Regions from separate parts of the Homo sapiens genome. Here region 1 is linked to region 2. Evidence: promoter capture Hi-C in 16 types of primary human blood cells and fetal thymus (Javierre and others, 2016). All regions are on one chromosome and are shown on one strand. The core of a region is centred on a gene start or on the middle of the fragment in contact, and the rest is flanking DNA. Distances in the headings are between cores, read along the strand shown. Region 1 overlaps S1PR5 (sphingosine-1-phosphate receptor 5). Region 2 holds the start of SLC44A2 (solute carrier family 44 member 2 (CTL2 blood group)).

Region 1 (2,897 bases), core at 24-2,523, 110 kb before region 2:
TCAGACACTGAGACAAGGTAGTCACTGTCTGGAATTTCCTCATCTGTCTAATGGGGATTAGGAAACCTACCTTGCAAAGTTGCTATAAGGCTGAAAAATAGGTGTGTCCCAGAACTGTGCAGAAAACTAGCCAGACAAAATGAACTCTTACTTTAGGCCGGGTGTGGAGGCTCACACCTGTATCCCAGCACTTCGTTGTTGTTGTTGTTGTTGTTATTGTTATTTTGTTTTCTGAGATGGAGTCTTGCTCGGTCGCCCAGGCTGGAGTGCAGTGGCGCGATCTCAACTTACTGCAACCTCCAGCCTCCTGGGTTCAAGTGATTCTCCCTCCTCAGCCTCCCGAGTAGCTCGGACTACAGGCGCGCGGCACCATGCCCGGCTAATTTTTTTTTTTTTTTTTGTATTTTTATTAGAGGCGGAGTTTCACCATGTTGGCCAGGCTGGTCTCGAGCTCCTGACCTCTAGAGATCCGCCTGCCTCGGCTTCCCAAAGTGCTGGGATTACAGGTGTGAGTCACCGTGCCTGGCCTTTATCCCAGCACTTTGGGAGGCCAAGGTGGGTTGCTTGAGCCCAGGAGTTTGAGACCAGCCTGGGCAACGTGGTGAGAAATCATCTCTAAAAAAAAATTCAAAACATGTTTGGTGTGGTGCTCCAGTAGCCCCAGCTACTCGGGTTGGGGGCTGAGGCAAGAGGATCACTTGAGCACAGGAGTTCAGGAGGATCACTTGAGGCTGCAGTGAGCTGGGATTATGCCAGTGTACTCCAGGCTGGGCGACAGAGCAAGATCCTATCTCAAAAAGAAACCAAAAAACGGCCGGGCACAGTGGCTCTACCTGTAATCCCAGCACTTTGGGAGGCTGAGGCGGGCAGATCACGAGGTCAGGAGTTTAAGACCAGCCTGATCAATATGTGAAACCCCATCTCTACTAAAAATACAAAAACTAGCCAGGTGTGGTGGCGGTGCCTGTAATCCCAGCTACTCGGGAGGCTGAGGCAGGAGAATCGCCTGAACCCAGGAGGCGGAGGTTGTAGTGAGCCAAGATTGCAGCACTGCACTCCAGCCTGGTGACGGAGTGAGACTTCATCTCAAAAAAAAAAAAAAGGCCAGGCGCAGTGGCTCACACCTGTTATCCCAGCACTTTGGGAGGCCGAGGTGGGCGGATCACAAGGTCAGGAGATCAAGACCATCCTGGCTAACACTGTGAAACCCCATCTCTACTAAAAATACAAAAAAATTAGCCATGCTTGGTGGCGGGCACCTGTAGTCCCAGCTACTTGGGAAGCTGAGGCAGGAGAATGGCGTGAACCTGGGAGGTGGAGCTTACAGTGAGCCGAGATTGCGCCACTGCACTCCAGCCTGGGTGATAGAGTGAGCCTCCATCTCAAAAAAAAAAAAAAAAGAGAAACCAAAAAACCTCTTATGTTTTCCTAAAAGACATGATTTCATCACACAGGCTGGAGTTCAGTTATGCAAAAATAGCTCACTGCAGCCCCTGAGCTCCTGGGTTCTGGAAATCCTCCTTCTTCAGCCTCCCCAGTAGCTGTGACTATAGGCATGCGTAACCACAACTGCCTAATTTTTAAAATTTTTTGTAGAGATGGGGTCTCACTATGTTGACCAGGCTGGTCTCAAACTCCCAGCCTCAATCGATCCTTCTGCCTCAGCCTCCCAAAGTGTTGGGATTACAGGCATGAGCCACTGTGTCTGGCCTTATTTTGTTATCCTTTTTTTTTTTTTTTTTTTTTTAGACCGAGTCTCACTTTGTTACCCAGGCTGGAGTGCAGCTCTTTGCAACCTCCGCCTCCCAGTTTCAAGGGATTCTCCTGCCTCAGCCTCCCGAGTAGCTGGAACTATATGCGTAAGCCATCACACTTGGCTAATTTTGGTATTTTTAGTAGAGATGGGGTTTCACCATGTTGGCCAAACTGGTCTCAAACTCCTGACATCAGGTGATCTGCCCACCTCTGCCTCCCAAAGTGCTGGGGTTAGAGGCATGAGTCACGGCACCCAGCCTATTATTATTATTTCTTTTAATGAAGGATCTGAAACTGCATTTGAAGAAATTTTATTAACTGGGCATGGTGGTGCATGCCTGTAGTCCCAGCTACTAGGGAGGCTGAAGCAGGAACTCCAGGCTTGATCCCAGGAGTTCCAGGCTGCAGTGAGCTATAATTGTGCCCATTGCACTCCAGCCTGGGTGACAGAGCACAAGATCCCAACTCAAAAAAAAAAAAAAGAAAGAAAGAAAGAAAAGAAAAATAAAAAAGAAATTTTATTACCAGATAGGATTTGGCTGAGTCTCCCAGAGTCAAATTTGGGGGTGCCCCACCCTTGGCATTGTCCTTGATAACTTTATTCCACTCTTACACTCAATTCCTCAGTAATTCTGTCTGCTGCCTCTAAAATCTATCTAGAATCCACGGGGTCTGGGCTTAGCTGGAATCTCCATCATTGTTCCTGTGGCTCAGTGCAGCCCCCCTTCACCTTCTCTGGTTTTCAACCTCCCATGGAGGCCACAAGACACCTGTGATCACCTGAATTAGGGCAAGTCCCTCTTCTGCTTAGAAGCTTCTATGGCTCCCACCTCACTCAGAGCAAAAGCGAAGTCCTCTATATCACCCACAAGGTCCTTCGGGAACTACTCCTTCAGCTCCTTGTCTCCTCCCATTCTCCCCCTCCGTCCCTGCTCCAGGCACACCAGCATCGCTGCATTTCTTAGAACACATGGGCACATTTCAGCCTCAGGGCCTTTGCGCATGCCATTCCCTCATCCTGAAATGCTTTTCTTTTGGTCTTCCCAGGACAGAGGTCTCAGCTCACATCACAAGTCACTACCTCTGCAGAGAGGTCTTCCCTGACCACCATCACCATCTCTGTCGTTTGTCACTGGAATCAT
Region 2 (3,019 bases), core at 108-2,607:
CCAAGTTGGCCAGGATGGTCTCGATCTCTTGACCTCATGATCCGCCCACCTCGGCCTCCCAAAGTGCTGGGATTATAGGTGTTAGCCACCACACCCAGCCTATTTTCTTTTTTCTTTTTCTTTTTGGAGACAGAGTCTCACTCTGTCCCCCAGGTTGGAGTGCAGTGAGGCAATCTTGGCTCACTGCAACCTCCACCTCCTGGGTTTAAGCGATTCTCCTGCCTCAGCTTCCCAAGTAGCTGGGATTACAGGCATGTGCCACCACACTGGCTAATGTTTGTATTTTTAGTAGAGAAGGGGTTTCACCATGTTGGCCAGGCTGGCTTAGAAATCCTGATCGACCTGCCTCAGCCTCCCAGAGTGCTGGGATTACAGGCATGAGCCACTGCACCTGGCCTATGCCTGCTCTTTGAGGTCAGTTTTGGTTTCATACTTTAGCCTCATTTTGCAGTTGAGGAAACTGAGGCTTAAGGAAGATAAGCCCTTTGTTAAGTATCCTCTAGTTCAGAGGGTGCAGAAGGAGCATTTGAATTCAGGGCGACCCAGGAGGATGTGGGCTCCACAAGGGTGGAGATTGGGTCTCTCTGGTTCCTCACTGTATGCGGTGCCCCGCCCAAGGCCTGCACCCACTAAGGGCTGAATAAATACTTGTTCTAAGACCAGGCCCAGTAGTGCACGCAGGTAATCCCAGCACTTTGGGGGGCCACGGTGGGAGGAGCCCACGAGTCCAGGAGTTAAAGATGAGCCTGGGCAACATAGCAACATCCCATCTCTACAAAAAAAATTAAAAATTAGCCGAGTGCAGTAGAGCACCTGTAGTCCCAGCTACTCAGGAGGCTTAGTCAGGAGGATGGCTTGAGGCAGGGAGGTCGAGACTGCGATGAGCTGTGATTGCACCACTGCACTCCAGCCTGGGCAACAGAGGGAGATCCTGTCTCAAAAAAAAAAAGCAGCAGACAGAAAGAAAACTAATTTCCTGCACAGCTTGGAGAAGTTTTCAGCACCAACATTCCACAGTTGGTTGTCTGGGTTTGGGCAGTAGGCCGTTTTCCCTCCCAGTGCCTCAGTTTCCACACCTGCAAAACGAAGCCACGGAAACGCCCTTTCAGGGTGGCCAGGGGTTCTAGGCGGCATCGCCCGGTGGCAGGGTGTTCCCAGGGTGAAGCCGCAGGGTTCCCGGGTGGGGGCGGGGAAGGCTAAATGCGGCCGGCCGGTGAGTGGCGGGAGCAGCTGCAGCCCCGCCCGCGCCCTCCCGGGTCCCTTAGTCTGGGCAGCTGCCCAGCTCGGGCCGGTCTGACCGGTTTGGGCCGCCCCGCCTGGCGCTGTGCTGGGAGGAGCCGCCGCCAGTCGCGCGGTCAGTGCCTCCCTCCAGACTCGGGAGGGTCGAGGGGGCGCGGGAGAGAGCGCGGGCGGCCGCCGGGGCTGGTCGCCTGCAGGGATGGGGGACGAGCGGCCCCACTACTACGGGAAACACGGTAGGCAGCGACCCCCGCCCGTAGCCCCGGGCCGACCCCTCGGTCCCTCGGAGGGGGCCTTGAGAGAACATGGGGCGCAGGGAAGGGGGCTGGAGGGGGAGCGCAATTGCAAATCTGCGCCTGGAGCCTCCCCACCATCAGCCAGGCCCCTTCACCCCACTTATCCCCCGCAGCCTCGCAGACGACCCTCCTTACTCTCCCCTACCCGAAGGACCTGCCCCTGTACCCCTCTGCCTGGCACTGCTGCCGGCGCCTCCTTCCCCCTATCCCACCTCAGATCTTCCCCATCTCCACCTGGTTCCGTGGTGGTCACCATTTCAGCCCTCTTCCCAGTGGGTGGCCGCCAGTTAATAAGTTTGTTCACAGTTAGTGATCCCTCCTTCCTCCCCTGTCCTGGCCTGCCAGAACTGGGGGCTTGGGTGTGGTCACCTGGAGGTGGGTGAGGCAGAAAATTCCACAGGTCTCTGAATTTTATTCTTGCCAAGGCAAAGACACCCCTAGGGGCTTTTGGGAGGGGGCTCTCCCAGCCCTGTCTTGGTTCAGGTCTCCAATCCCATCCATCTTAATCTTCTTGACTTTCAGGAACGCCACAGAAGTATGATCCCACTTTCAAAGGACCCATTTACAATAGGTAAGAGCTCTGGGTTTTGGGGGGTTCTCCCCGCTAATACTACCCCAATCCCTGTCTCTTCACACCCCCTCCCATCTGTTCTCCAACAAACTGGTGACAAATATTTGAAACTTTTTTTTTTTTTTGAGATGGAGTCTTGCTCTGTCACCAGGCTGGAGTGCCGTGGCGCGATCTCAATCTCGGCTCACTGCAACCTTCGCCTCCCGGGTTCGAGCAATTCTCCCACCTCAGTCTCCCAAGTAGCTGGGATTACAGGCTTGCACCACCACACCTGGCTAATTTTTTTTTTTTTTTGTACTTTTAGCAGAGATGTTTCGCTGTGTTGCCCATGCTGGTCTCGACCTCGTGAGCTCAAAGCGATCCACCTGCCTTGGCCTCCCAAAGTGCTGGGATTACAGGTGTGAGTTACCACACCTGGCCTGGACTTAATTTTTACCATGTTTATATTTATTTATTTATTTATTTATTTTTGAGATGGAGTCTCACTCTGTCACCCAGGCTGGAGTGGTGCAATCTCAGCTCACTGCAACCTTCCCCTCCTGGTTCAAGCACGTCTTCTGTCTCAGCCTCTCCAGTAGCTGTGACTACTCAGAGGCTACTCAGAAGGCTGAGGCAGGAGAATTGCTTGAATCTGGGAGGTGGAGGTTGCAGTAAGCTGAGATTGCGCCACTGCACTCCAGCCTGGAGGACAAGAGCGAGACTCTGTCTCAAAAAAAAATAACAAAAAAATAAAATACAGCCAGGCACGGTGGCTCACACCTATAATCCCAGCACTTTGGGAGGCCAAGGCAGGTGGATCACTTGAGGTTAGGAGTTCGAGACCAGCCTGGCTAACATGGTGAAACCCTGTCTCTACTAAAAATACAAGAATTAGCTGGGCATGGTGGCGGGCACCTATAATCCCAGCTACTTG

The links. The method cuts DNA at HindIII sites, captures the fragments that hold promoters and counts their contacts. A CHiCAGO score of 5 or more calls a contact.
Region 1: a fragment that was not itself captured here is called in contact with the fragment with the promoter of SLC44A2 in region 2 in 7 of 17 cell types (naive CD8 T cells, naive B cells, total CD8 T cells and 4 more); the score reaches 6.5 in naive CD8 T cells.

The regions. Positions count from the first base shown.
Region 1 is chr19:10,510,692-10,513,588 of GRCh38, forward strand. It overlaps S1PR5 (sphingosine-1-phosphate receptor 5), which reads right to left. Exons shown (of 2, transcript NM_030760.5): 2 at 2,051-2,897. Among named protein-coding and RNA genes, the nearest start is that of S1PR5, 5.3 kb to the right of the region's middle. The HindIII fragment of the contact is 2,588 bases long and covers 1-2,567 here.
Region 2 is chr19:10,624,196-10,627,214 of GRCh38, forward strand. SLC44A2 (solute carrier family 44 member 2 (CTL2 blood group)) reads left to right here and starts at 1,358. Exons shown (of 22, transcript NM_020428.4): 1 at 1,358-1,475; 2 at 2,058-2,106. The coding sequence starts at 1,439. RefSeq lists an enhancer at 1-397. The HindIII fragment of the contact is 23,966 bases long and covers 1-3,019 here.